Regions from separate parts of the Homo sapiens genome. Here all the other regions are linked to region 2. The links are contacts of gene promoters, found by promoter capture Hi-C in blood cells and fetal thymus (Javierre and others, 2016). All regions are on one chromosome and are shown on one strand. Each heading gives the region's core, a stretch centred on a gene start or on the middle of the fragment in contact. The rest is flanking DNA. Distances are from core to core; before and after follow the strand shown. Region 1 overlaps FAP (fibroblast activation protein alpha). Region 2 holds the start of PSMD14 (proteasome 26S subunit, non-ATPase 14). Region 3 holds the start of RBMS1 (RNA binding motif single stranded interacting protein 1).

Evidence for each region. Contacts are between HindIII fragments. The CHiCAGO score rates a contact against its expected background, and 5 or more counts as called.
Region 1: a contact is called between a fragment that was not itself captured here and the fragment with the promoter of PSMD14 in region 2, in 6 of 17 cell types (total CD4 T cells, M2 macrophages, naive CD8 T cells and 3 more). The highest score is 10.9, in total CD4 T cells.
Region 3: the fragment with the promoter of RBMS1 here is called in contact with the fragment with the promoter of PSMD14 in region 2 in 2 of 17 cell types (total B cells and neutrophils); the score reaches 5.8 in total B cells.

What each region holds. Positions count from the first base shown.
Region 1 is chr2:162,184,822-162,188,883 of GRCh38, reverse strand. It overlaps FAP (fibroblast activation protein alpha), which reads left to right. Exons shown (of 26, transcript NM_004460.5): 20 at 521-715. Among named protein-coding and RNA genes, the nearest start is that of GCG, 35 kb to the right of the region's middle. RefSeq lists an enhancer at 3,923-4,062. The HindIII fragment of the contact is 3,463 bases long and covers 1-3,176 here.
Region 2 is chr2:161,305,690-161,309,996 of GRCh38, reverse strand. PSMD14 (proteasome 26S subunit, non-ATPase 14) reads right to left here and starts at 1,572. Exons shown (of 12, transcript NM_005805.6): 1 at 1,393-1,572. RefSeq lists an enhancer at 1,245-1,704. The HindIII fragment of the contact is 7,205 bases long and covers 1-3,894 here.
Region 3 is chr2:160,491,333-160,495,096 of GRCh38, reverse strand. RBMS1 (RNA binding motif single stranded interacting protein 1) reads left to right here and starts at 1,290. Exons shown (of 14, transcript NM_016836.4): 1 at 1,290-1,808. The coding sequence starts at 1,734. RefSeq lists a silencer at 863-1,042 and an enhancer at 1,229-1,749. The HindIII fragment of the contact is 13,330 bases long and covers 1-3,661 here.

The sequences.
Region 1 (4,062 bases), core at 196-2,695, 880 kb before region 2:
AAATTTCCTTTGTATGGCAATTTGCCGAATGTGTCAGAATACCTTTGAGATAGAGAAATTGCAGCCAAAAAAAATATTGTAAATCATCTTCACATCTTATGTAATTGAGTTAGAAATGAAATAAAGGAATAGAATACATTTAGTGGAATCACACCCAAAATCAGTGCTGACCTACACACAATTTGCTTAAAACACCATGCATTTTTTTTAGTATATCTTATGTCTGCTTTTAGCAAGTGGCAGGTGGCAGAAATGACGAAAAACCCACACATATTCCTTGAAATGCCAACCCTAGATGTATCCGTTTTGGGGAATAGGAGAGGCTGTGTCCCAAAACAACTTCCTTGTAGCAAACCTCTGGGAAAAGCCTGGACTCCTCTTGATTTTGAGCCAGTTCTAACGCCATTGTTATTTTATCACATAATTGTACTGGAATTACTAGAAGCAATGCTTGGCCAGGATGGGAAATTGAGTTTTACAAAGCAATCAAAGATTCTTGTTTTTTTTGTTTTTCCTTTAGGTATGGTGGTCCCTGCAGTCAGAGTGTAAGGTCTGTATTTGCTGTTAATTGGATATCTTATCTTGCAAGTAAGGAAGGGATGGTCATTGCCTTGGTGGATGGTCGAGGAACAGCTTTCCAAGGTGACAAACTCCTCTATGCAGTGTATCGAAAGCTGGGTGTTTATGAAGTTGAAGACCAGATTACAGCTGTCAGGTGAGCACCTTCTCATTCAAGCAGATGTCAACATGCAACAAAAGTCATGCAATCACTATTGTGTTTCTCCATTCTTCATGACTTAATTCTTTTGTTTTTCTTTTTCTAACTTGGTCTAAAACTATCACTAATCTTAAAGAGGTATTTCTGCCAAATATGAAAAAAAAGTATTTATGGAAGAGAGCTAACGAATGTGTAGAAAAATGATTTCAAGTGCTAAATGACAAATACCCTCTTTTGATGTGTTGTCATTCATTCCAATATCTTTTAATTTAGTTCCATTTCTTACAATTGATAGAAAAACTTTGAACTCTAATGATGATCTTCAGGAAAACAAATATCTGAATTTGCTCAAGCATTGTGGATTCTGCCTCTTAAGTTTAGAAATGGCTCAAGATTTTATCAGCACTACATACTTTTAGATGTTAGGCCTTCATTTGTGGTTAAACTAGCTATCAGTCGGCCATGGTAGCATGAAAGTGTTTGCCTATTTTCGTTTGACAAAAACATAGTCATTTTACACAACAGAAATTATATTATGAAAACATTTAGGGAAAACACAGATTCATAATCTGATTTCTTCTTCTCAACTATATATATTTTCAACCATGATTTATGGTTCAATCATCTTTTCCTGAAACAGGACTATATAGGCACCAAAATTGTGGCTTTTTTAGAAACACTGTGCAAATAATTCTTGCCATGTCTCTATAGTTGTTGGGTTTCATTATTATGTTATGAATAGGTGAAGCTAAGAATAATAGTTCGTAAATTTAAAAGGTAGCAGGCTAATTGCACTCTCAGTCGTGAATATATGTGCATGTGAGGAGCTAAAGGTCAAACACTGTTTCACAGGCAAAGAGAAATTTAGAAATTTCTTTAGTACATTTTTTATCCCCTTAATGTTATTAATACTTAATGATTTCACTGCAACATGCAGAATAAAGATTGTATTTAACAGCCTGGAGCCAGGCCTAGACAACACTTTTCTATATTTTTGTCTCTAATCAAAGCAGAAGAGTTTAGACTCACAAGTAATTATTTTTAAAAATAGAAAGGTGTCCATAACCCATACATTTTCAAGTGCTTCTTTCATTCTGGGAACAAACAAAATGTTCAATTAAAAAAAAAGTCTATCTGAGTACAATACGACAAATTAGTAAGTAGGTTACTAACACTAAAATCTGTAGCTATCACTCAATTTCTGGAAGCTCCCTCTTTCTTATGGACTCAGACTTTTGGCCTTTCAACTATTCACTTGTTTGGAGGAGATAGTTCAAAGAAAAACCCCACTGAGACATCAGTTTCTCCTATAAAGACTGTAGTGTGCCTTAATGAGAATATTAACGCCATCCTCAGAATTATAGCTTAATTCCATGGGGGACTTTTTTTAGCACCATGGCTCACATCTATTTGCATTTAAACCATGCAATAAACATCAAGGACATGTAATCCTGGGACTACATGAAAACAGAGATGAAAATTATGCCTCATTTATAATTTATTTAGATCTTTTCCAAAGCTGAAAGAGCTAAAAAGTTGTTTATTTTGGCATTGGTTAAAAAATCATTGTCTTCATCATCGTCATCATCGCAACCCACCAGTAACAACAAAATATGTCATTATACTTTTATGGGTTTATTTACCACCACAGATGCACCATTTGAACCTAAGAAGAAATAGCTTCTTAATATTTTCCTTGGATGAAATGAAAATTTAAACCTGAGCCATGATATTCAACATACAGGACACAAAGCCATAAATTCTACCTTCTACTGATTTTCGCAGTAATACCAATTTGTCTTTGGCATTTAGAATTGAAGATGGACTAGAGGTGGTAATTGGATACCTCTACTTTCTCTGAGCCATTTTTAGGATGGAATCTGAAGAAAGTCTTCCTGCTATAGGGAAAACATATGTTCACCCATATACTCAGCCATTCAACAACATAGCAAATATTAATATTAATACATGCCATTGCAGTACACTCTGTATAAAATTGTGCAATTTGCAATTTCTGTTTTCAGTGTGCTTGCAATCTGGTAAAAGTAAATAAGCCACCTACACTCTGAAGGGACAAAATTGTTGTTAGATCAAACTTTTAGTAAACACCCCAGAGAATATGGGCAGCTGCGTGGCCCCATGCAAAGTCTATAAACAACAGTGGAGATGACAGCCAGAGCTGGCCTTGGTTTTTGCTTGAAATTGTTCTTATGCAACTGTGAAAAGGAAGCCTTATAATCCAATGCTTTGAGAAAACAAAAGCTAAATAGGATAGACTCAGAATAATAATCCTAGGGATGATTCAATATACCTCCTAAGGAAGTGTTTTAGGAATCAGACACTAAATGCCTGACCTGGGGAATTGAGATTATAATACTTCTACTGTAGCCCTTAAATTGCCTCTCAGAGAATAAAATTTCTCCCCTGAATCTTTTACAAAATGCAATCTGGCTAAGCTTTTGACATACCAAAAGAAAATCGTACGTACATATTTGGAAACAACAGTAAATACTACTCAAGGCCAACAAATAGATTTAAACAAAGCAAAGTAGGGGAAAAAAAGAAGTCATATCGTCTTATAACTTCTATCTATGTGAAAGAAAATGCGTCAGAAGAGATGTTTGTGAAGCTACAGACATAAGGGAGACTGGAACCCGCTTTCTTTAGGTGTCTCTTCAAATGGTACATATGTGAGACCCTTAAAACTTTGGTGGTTATAAGGGCAACTTTGCTCATTTGGAGTATATTTGGCACTTTTGATATTCCCACAACTTTAAAATTTGATATAACTTGAGGGTTAGTGGTGGGGAAGAATTACATGAGATGAAATTTTCTATCATGCTTTTATAGATGGCATGAATAAGAATATTTCTAAAATAGGATAATAATTGATCGCTATGATTCCAAGTTTACCTTGGCCTTGGGCCAACTTTATGAGAGAAAAGTTATAAAGTTCAATCCAGACTCCAAGATTAGAAAAACATCCTTTTCATTTGTTACTGACATTTTGTTGATATAACCACATTATCAACAGTATTTACAACCCTCTGGGAAACTCTTCAGAATTTGAAGGTGAATTTTATAGTGCCTCGTTGGTCTGGAAGTGCTAAGATTATCTAGCTAACCTTTAACCTAGTCCTGCAACATTCAGTGTTAATGTTTCATTTCCATGTTAACTATTGCACTATCATTTCCTGTAAATGTCATCCTTTCAGAATAAACCTAGGAAGAGAGCTGTTAAGAGTTTCCTGTTCCCATGTATCACCTGTTATTTGCTCTTTACCCCAGATGTAAGGTAGTATGATTGTTGGCTTCTGGGAGATCATAAAATCACAATTGATTTT
Region 2 (4,307 bases), core at 323-2,822:
AGTAGAGACGGGTTTTCACTATGTTAGCCAGGCTAGTCTTGGCCAGGCTGGATCATCTCATGATCTGCCCACCTCAGCCTCCCAAAGTGCTGGGATTACAGGTGTGAGCCACCGCACCCGGCCTAAATTAAAATGGCAATGTATTATTTACCAAGCACTTTAGGCTGAAAAAAAAACAAAAAACCAAAAACTCCCAAAGTCAACAGGTGAAGCATCAATAAAAGATCATCACTTGAAAACTTTCTTCCCTTGGCAAGATTTAGGGACAAATTCAAGACAACATTTAGCCTTTTTCACTAAATAGCACTTCACTAAACACACCTTAACTGTAGTTAATTCAGAACCACTATATATCTTAACCTCTAAACTTCAAATGAGTCAGCTGGTAGGTAGCCTTACGTGACAGGAAGGCCACCATTATATTAATCATCTCCACTAAAACTGTGTTCATGTTTTTGTTATTTCTACAGTATCAGTGCATGTCTTGCTGCTTTTCTCAAACACATTAAGTCAGAAGCACTAAAAAAACACTTGTGACCAGTGGAACAAAATCACTTTCACACTATAACTCTATTTTATGCTCATTTTTAAACCCTTTCCCCTGCCTTTCCATAATATTTTATCAACTTATATTACCATTTATTTTCTCGAGAATTTTTCCTTCAGTCACTAGGTTTATAGACTCAAAAGTTTACATTCTTTTTCTTTTGACAGACACAGAGCTACATCCCCAGGAAAATTAAGTTGCAAGATGTAACATACGGTAGCAGATTTCTACTTTACTTAAAACGAGAAATGTAATCAATTTACCAACAATTACTCAATTAGTATGATATTGAAAGTAAGTTAACAGCCATAGTAGCACACTTTGTTTTTAAGATATTCAAGGTCCAAAAGCAGTGTATCTGCAGGACTTTTGTTTACTTTTTGGAGGGAGCTGAAAACCTAACACTAACAGAAAAAGGGTTAAGGCTTACAGGAAGGACAAGAGATAAAACAAACGTATTCAATGGGAAAGTTAATTCTACTCTCTCTCCCTTGTTTTCCCGGTCTGCTTTGAAAAACTTCAAAGCAGACCGGTTAACAACTATGGATAGAGCACAGACAAACAGGCCATAAACAAGGATTCTCTCTATATAGATGGAAGAGGTTCCCATGATGTGAATTCGGCCAAACAGAAAAGAATGGAGAAAGGAGGCGACATCCAGACCTGACCCTGCCAGAGAGCCCTGAGAGCAGGCGAAGAGAATGAAGGAGGCCGGGCTCCTCCCTCGCGGCCCAGGCCTCCTGTGGCAACTCAGCTGGGCAACGTGACTCAGGAAAGCACGGGGCTGGCGGCGGCCTAGCACGGCTGCCTCCCCAGACCTCCCAGGCCTGCCTTCTGGGTCTTACCTGAAGACGGGCGGGAGCCGGATGCCGCGATATGGACCCTTGTCTTGCCTCTGTGGTGACGCGAAGACAGAGGCAACAGCAGCAGCGGCGCACACCCGACGCGGCTCTGTCTGCAAACCGGCGATGAATCAGCCCGATTCCATTCAAAAGAGTTGCCCGGGCCTCCGCCGCGAAGCACTTCCGGGTTCACTAGTTTGCTTCGGCTTCCGTTCCCCGACGGCCAATTGGAGACGACGGAGAGTCAAGCGGATGTCCAGGAGGAGCTCTTGGGACAGACGGCGCGGGCGGCCCGGCGTCTCCTGTCTCTGGCAGGACTGTGAGGCGGCACTTAGCGCCCTGGTCGCTCGCGCCCCGCCGACGCCTCCTTTTTCTCTCCCTACCTCTGCGCTCTGCGGCCGCCGCTGAGATCTGGGACGGCGGCACATCCAGCCCGGGAGACGACTGGCTAGGAAATAGAACTGTTAGTATTTTGAAGCCCAGATCCCCTTTCGTTTTGGTGTTCACTACTATTATTGCCCTCCTCAAAAACTAAAAGGTTCATTTGAGCTAGATTTAACTTGGTTATCTGAGAAGAAAATTTTTTTAAAAGAGGGGGGATGGTGTGATTAGAGGGGACCGGTAAGACGCCCTTTTCTGTAAGTCCGCTTTATCCACCTCTTGTCATTATTGCTTTGCAAGGATTGGATTTCAGGGAAAACTAAGGTTTCCCAAATGTTCAAACCACCTATTTTAAGCCGAGTTTAGTTTACAGGGTTTAAAGAGTCATTTATTCACATTTCTCCATGTAATTATCGGCAATCACATTTTACTCATGATCTACTTTGTGCTAGGCTTTCAAAAAGCAAAGTTGCAGAAGATATACTTGACAAGTTGATATTACACTCTAGGTCTAGGTACAGTCTCTGTTTAAGGCAGCTTGTTTGCCACGTTCCTGTCACTTTCTCAAATATGTTCCAAATAACAAGCATCTTTAAAGCATTCCTAAATCGAGAATGGTGATGAATCTACTGGACAGAGGGTGAGGAAAGATTACAGCGCCTGGATCCAAACTGTGATTTGAGTAGCACAATTGCTTTAAGATATTAATACCTTTAAAAACACAAAGATTATTTTACTCATAGGTAATATTTGGATCCACATCTTTATGCTTCCCCCCCAAACCTATGCCTCTCTATTCATTTTTTATGGGAGGAGGGGGTGAGTAGCCCCGTCCTCCAAATAATTTTCCTAATCAGAAACTTAAGAGTATGAACACTTGCCTCTTTTTCATCTCTCCCCACTGTAGAAACCATGAAATGTGTAATCTCCATAACAGCTTTTCCAATCCACCACTTCCCCTTCTAAATACTCCCCACTTTGGCCTTAACTCAGACCTTCCTCACTTCTTTTTTATTTTATTTTATTTTATATGTATTTATTTATTAATGCATTTTTGAGTTAGGGTCTTGCTTTGTCACGCAGGCTGGAGTGCAGTGGCGCCATCTGGGCTCACTGCAACATCCCGTCCCCGGGCTCAGGCAACCCTCCCACTTCAGCCTCCTAGGTAGCTAGGGCTACAGGCGCTTGCCACCATGCCCAGTTAATTTTTATTTATGTTTTTATTTATTTTATTTTTTTAGTAGAGACAGGATTTCACCATGTTCCCCAGGCTACTTTTTTAGAATGCTCTTTGATCTTTCCGCCTTCGGTCTGATTCCTTTTAATCCATTCTCCACCTCACTGGTAAAAATTTTTGTGCTATATGTAGTCATGCTCCTTCTTTATTTAAAATTCCACTAGTGGCTCCCCATAACATTCATTATAAAGGTCAAAAAAAAAAAAAACCCTTAAACTTTGTTTGGAGCACCTTTTGCTCCAGCCATACTAAAGTATTTAGCTGGGGAATAAGATGTCCATAGGGCTTTGAAAAACGCTAACATATTCCTGAGACTGTAGAAGGTGCTTAGGGTGTGCATATGTCTAGGGTTATGTGAACACTCAAGATAGGCCTGAGAAGGCCCTGAGCTCTAACCTCTGGGTGACCTTGAGGCACTACAGAAGCAAGAAGTGAAGGCTAAGGCAGAATTATTTGGTTGGTTGGTGCAAAAAATTGCGGTTTTGTCATTTCAACGAAATTACTTTGGTACCAACCTAATGTAAAGTGCTTGGCTGATTGTTGAAGGCTTGTCCCAACGTAAGTACTAAACCCCTCAGGAAAGACTGGGAGATTTTTTGGTTGAAGGTGTTTAAGAAAACCTGTCTCTCTAATCATTAGTTGACCACTAAGCTAACTGAGCAGAAACCTGAGTGGTCACACACAATAAACAATGCAGACTTTAAAGAATTCATTCATAAGCTAGGTGCGGTGGCACACGTGTAGTCCCAGCTACTCGGTAAACTAAGGCCAGAGGATCCCTTGAGTCACCAACTCAGACCCTATCTCTAAAAAAAAAAAAAAAGAATGAGTTCAGAAAAGTCACTAAATCAACAACTGCTACAACAAACAGAAATAACAGTGAAGCTTGGGGAGCGGGTAGAATCTGATTTCCAGTGTTGCACATTATATTATTTAAAATGTTCAGTTTTCAAAATAGTTAAGATACATGCAAAGAAACAAGAATGTATGGCTCATACACAGGATAAAAATTAATCAATAGAAACTCACCCGAGGAAGCCTACATGCTGGACTTACTAGATAAAAAGGCTTTAAATCAGATATTTTCAATATGTTACAAAGCTAAAGGAAACCATGTCTAAAGAACTAGAGGAAAGTATGAGATGTTTCATCAAATAGATGATAAAGACAAATCATTTTTTAAAACCCAAATAATTCTGGAGTTAAAAAGTATAATATGCCATGACGGAGACAAATTTTAAATTTTTAAAAAAAAATAAAATAACAAAAAGGTATAATAAAGTGAAAAGTTTACTAGAGG
Region 3 (3,764 bases), core at 41-2,540, 810 kb after region 2:
TCCTTATTTTGTCATTGTTTTAAAGTATCTTACTAAACCTATTTTAAAATGTTATCATATAAAAATAATAACTGTTTAACAAAATAATGCATTCCAGTTGAGTTTAATTTACCTTGTGCTATTAACAAAAGACTCTTCAAAAACCAAAATGACAAAGTAAACAAGGTCTATTTAATAACAAACACAGTTTTTTATTACATTTTATTAGATGTGCCGGAACCCTAATTTGAGGATGCTTGCTTACCTATGCTATCCGTATGTACATTTTGGTATTAGCTCTCTTTTTGAGCTGGAATATAAAAGTCTTCTGCAGGCAGCTTCGGGGACCAATTAATTCCATTAAATTATATCTAGTTATGTAGTGAACTGAACCACTGCTGGTCTGAGGCTGTCTAGAGCTGTGACAATTAGGAGATGGAGAGAGGCAGAAAGAGAGATTGATTTTATATGTCACTGAAGCACACTGCAACAATATGCCAGCGTGACTTTCAAAATGGCCTTAAAATATTCCAAACTCAGGGAGTTTCCTTGCTCCTGAGTGGGAGTTGACAGACTGTCTGGCAGCATTAGAAAGAGGCAGAGAAAAGCTGATGTCTATATTGTGTCCTCTAATAACATTCTGCCTCTTTGCGGCATCCCCCTCTTAGAAGGATCCGTCTATATGTTGTGAGGGGTGTGTGTGTGTGTGTGTGTGTGTGTGTATGTATGTATGTGCTTTGCCTCCCCTTGTGCAAGGGGCATGATTTCACGTCTCACATCTGGGAAAACCAAACCGAAGGACGCTAACCCTCCCAAGGTCACCTAGATTAGTCTTGTGGCCCCGGGTCGGGGGTGGGTGGGAGGAACAGAACCCAGGTGTCCAGACTCCAGCTTTGTTGGGCATTAAATCATTTTCCTTCCCTTGTGAAAAAAAATTACTGGGCGGTGGGAAGTGAACGATTAATCAGATTTCCTCTTTTCCCTTATTTCCCCTCCCCCTTACGAAGATAAAAACTCGGGAAAGCAAAAGAGGTGCCCGCCCTGCAGTTCTTAAGCTGGGTCCCCCCGCATTCCCCCTCCACCCCCACTCCCACTCCCATTTCCCCACCCCCGACACAAAGCGATCTGGACTCACAGGGCTTCCGCCCGTCCAACCGCGAGCCTGGGAGGTGAGGAGTGGTTAAAACTCAGCCCTCACCTCCAGCGGGTCCCGGGCTCGGCGGCGCCCAGGCCCCGCCCCCGCCCGCCCTTCCCCCACGGCCTCGGAACGCCAGCCCCTCTCCTCTCTCCACATCGGGCGCACCCACCCCAGATGCCGCCTGGCACCAAGCGCAGCCGCCGCTGCCGCACTTTCCACTTGTATTGATCACCTCTCAGCCCCGCGCAGCCGGCTCGCCCGAGCGGACCGCGGCCAGCGCGCCAGCCCTTGGCAGCCCCGGAGCAGTCGGGCTCCGGGAGGAAACTCCTTGGGAGCGCCCTGTCCGGGGTGCCCTCTGCGCTCTGCAGTGTCTTTCTTTCTGCCTGGGAGGAGGAGGAGGAGGAGGAAGAGGAGGAGGAGGAGGAGGAGGAGGAGGAAGAGGAGGAGGAGGAGGAGGACGTCTGGTCCCGGCTGGGAGGTGGAGCAGCGGCAGCAGCAGCAGCCGCCGCCGCCGCCGCCGCTGCCGCCGCCGCCGGAAAGGGAGAGGCAGGAGAGCCCGAGACTTGGAAACCCCAAAGTGTCCGCGACCCTGCACGGCAGGCTCCCTTCCAGCTTCATGGGCAAAGTGTGGAAACAGCAGATGTACCCTCAGTACGCCACCTACTATTACCCCCAGTATCTGCAAGCCAAGGTAAAGGGGCGCCGGGGAGAGGTGACGGCCGGAGGAGGGGGCCCGGGGACGCGCGCAGGGTCAGGCCTGGGGAGGGGGGCGCGCGGCGAACCCCCGCCACCGCCGGGCGGAGTTGCTGGAAGGTTGCTAACTATAGCGCTGGCCTGGGCAGAGCCGGGCGGCGCGCGGGGCGGCGGCTTCCCTGGGAGCGGAGTGCGGGGATCGGGTTACAGAAAGCCGCGGGGGGAGAGACTAGACAGGAAAGAGCCACCAGCCCCTTCCTGGCCCGGCCAGCGGGGAGGGTCGTGGGGTCGAGCGGCGCCCCTCGCCGAGCCCTGGCTGGCCGGCGGCCGTCGCCTGGTGTGCGCGTCTGGATCCGCTGGTGGCCCGGCTTTTCGACCCCTTCTCCAAGGGCCTCGCCCTGTAAGCTGTAACTCTTCGCTCCCCTCGCCGTGGCGCGGAGCCTCCCGCCCCCCAGGGACGCCCCTCCACCTCCCGCGCACGCGATGACTGGGGCTGGAGGGGCGGCGGGGCCGGGATATTTTCCTCCCCGCCTCCGGCCCTGAGCGCCCGCCCCTCGCCTCTGATCTTTGTGCGGTGTGGCACTTCACCTGGTTACTGATTTCTACTTTTACGCTGGTGTTTTGGGTAGAAAAGTGGCCAAAGTTCACTCGCGTTCATTGATGTCCCTTCTAATCTCTAGAGGTTTTGCAAAGGAGGGACAATGGGCAGATTTCAGTGCAGAGAAAGAAGTGACTTCGTATTTGGTTAAAAAAGAAACAAAAACAAAACTAGCTTATATGTTTGCCACAGATCGATTTCCAATGTTGCTTTTTAAAAAGTGACCTCGGCACACTCTTGGGTAACAACAGTTGATGACATGTAGCCATACAAATTGCGCCTGGCTTTCTAGGGACCCTGGGTACTTTGTTAGTGGGCCTATCTTATTTTTACAATAAGAATTTGATGCCTCCCGAACTCATTTAAAAAAATTATTTGGGCCATGAAGACTGGAAATTTCACTGCTTTGGAAGCAGCCGCCAGAATTTGGGAGGGTGGAAGTTGGACGCAGCAGCCTTCTTCAGCCATTAACATCTATCACAACTCTGGGTGCCCTTCTAGATCACAAAAGAATCAGGTATGGATGCAGTGTCCGAACTTTCTTTGGGAGGTTGTAATCATGCTCTGCTTGCTGGTAGTTGGGCATTTCCGGCCTGGTACAAAGAATCTCTGATTCAGCCTTTTCTTTCTTAGAATGTGTGTGGTCCACGTTTTCATGTACTTACGACATAGCCCTGTATTTGTCTACGTAAAAAGGACACTTGTCAGTTTCGAGACCAGAAATGTCCTAGCAATCCCGGGCCTCATTTTCACTTCCCCCAATTCCCACTTTACTTTGGGTCACCAGAAAGCAGCAAGATGGTAGCAGCAAGGATACCCCTTATTCATCTCTGTGTAGTTCTCACAGTATTTGTTTTAGGAACTTGCAGGAGATGCTAGTTTTCTGTGAGCTACATGGTAGCTGTTCAAAGAAATTTTGTGGCATAATCAATGCACTACCTTTTAGATATCTTATATATTTAATGCACTTGTTTAAATTATGCAGCATTGGGTGCCTAAAGGACAGCTTATTCAACACTTAACAATATGAATAATAAATACACCCACTCAGGTGAGGAAGAAAAAAAGCCATGTTTCTACAGGCACATTTACCTTAGTAATTTTTATATACCATTAGTAAGTTAGAAACCAAGTCCATACCATTTAATGTAGCTAATGCAATGCCATTTGGCTTTTTTGCCCTGTAAATAATTGAAGAGAGAGACAAACGGCAAGAGCCTGCTCTAGTAATTAGGGTCGGATCCCAGAAAGCTTTACGGCCCATTTTCTGAAAGTGTGCTTCCTGCATAAAGCATTTAATATTGATTTGTGTTGCGGTAAATGACATTCTCAAAACATTTTGCTAATTCTACAATT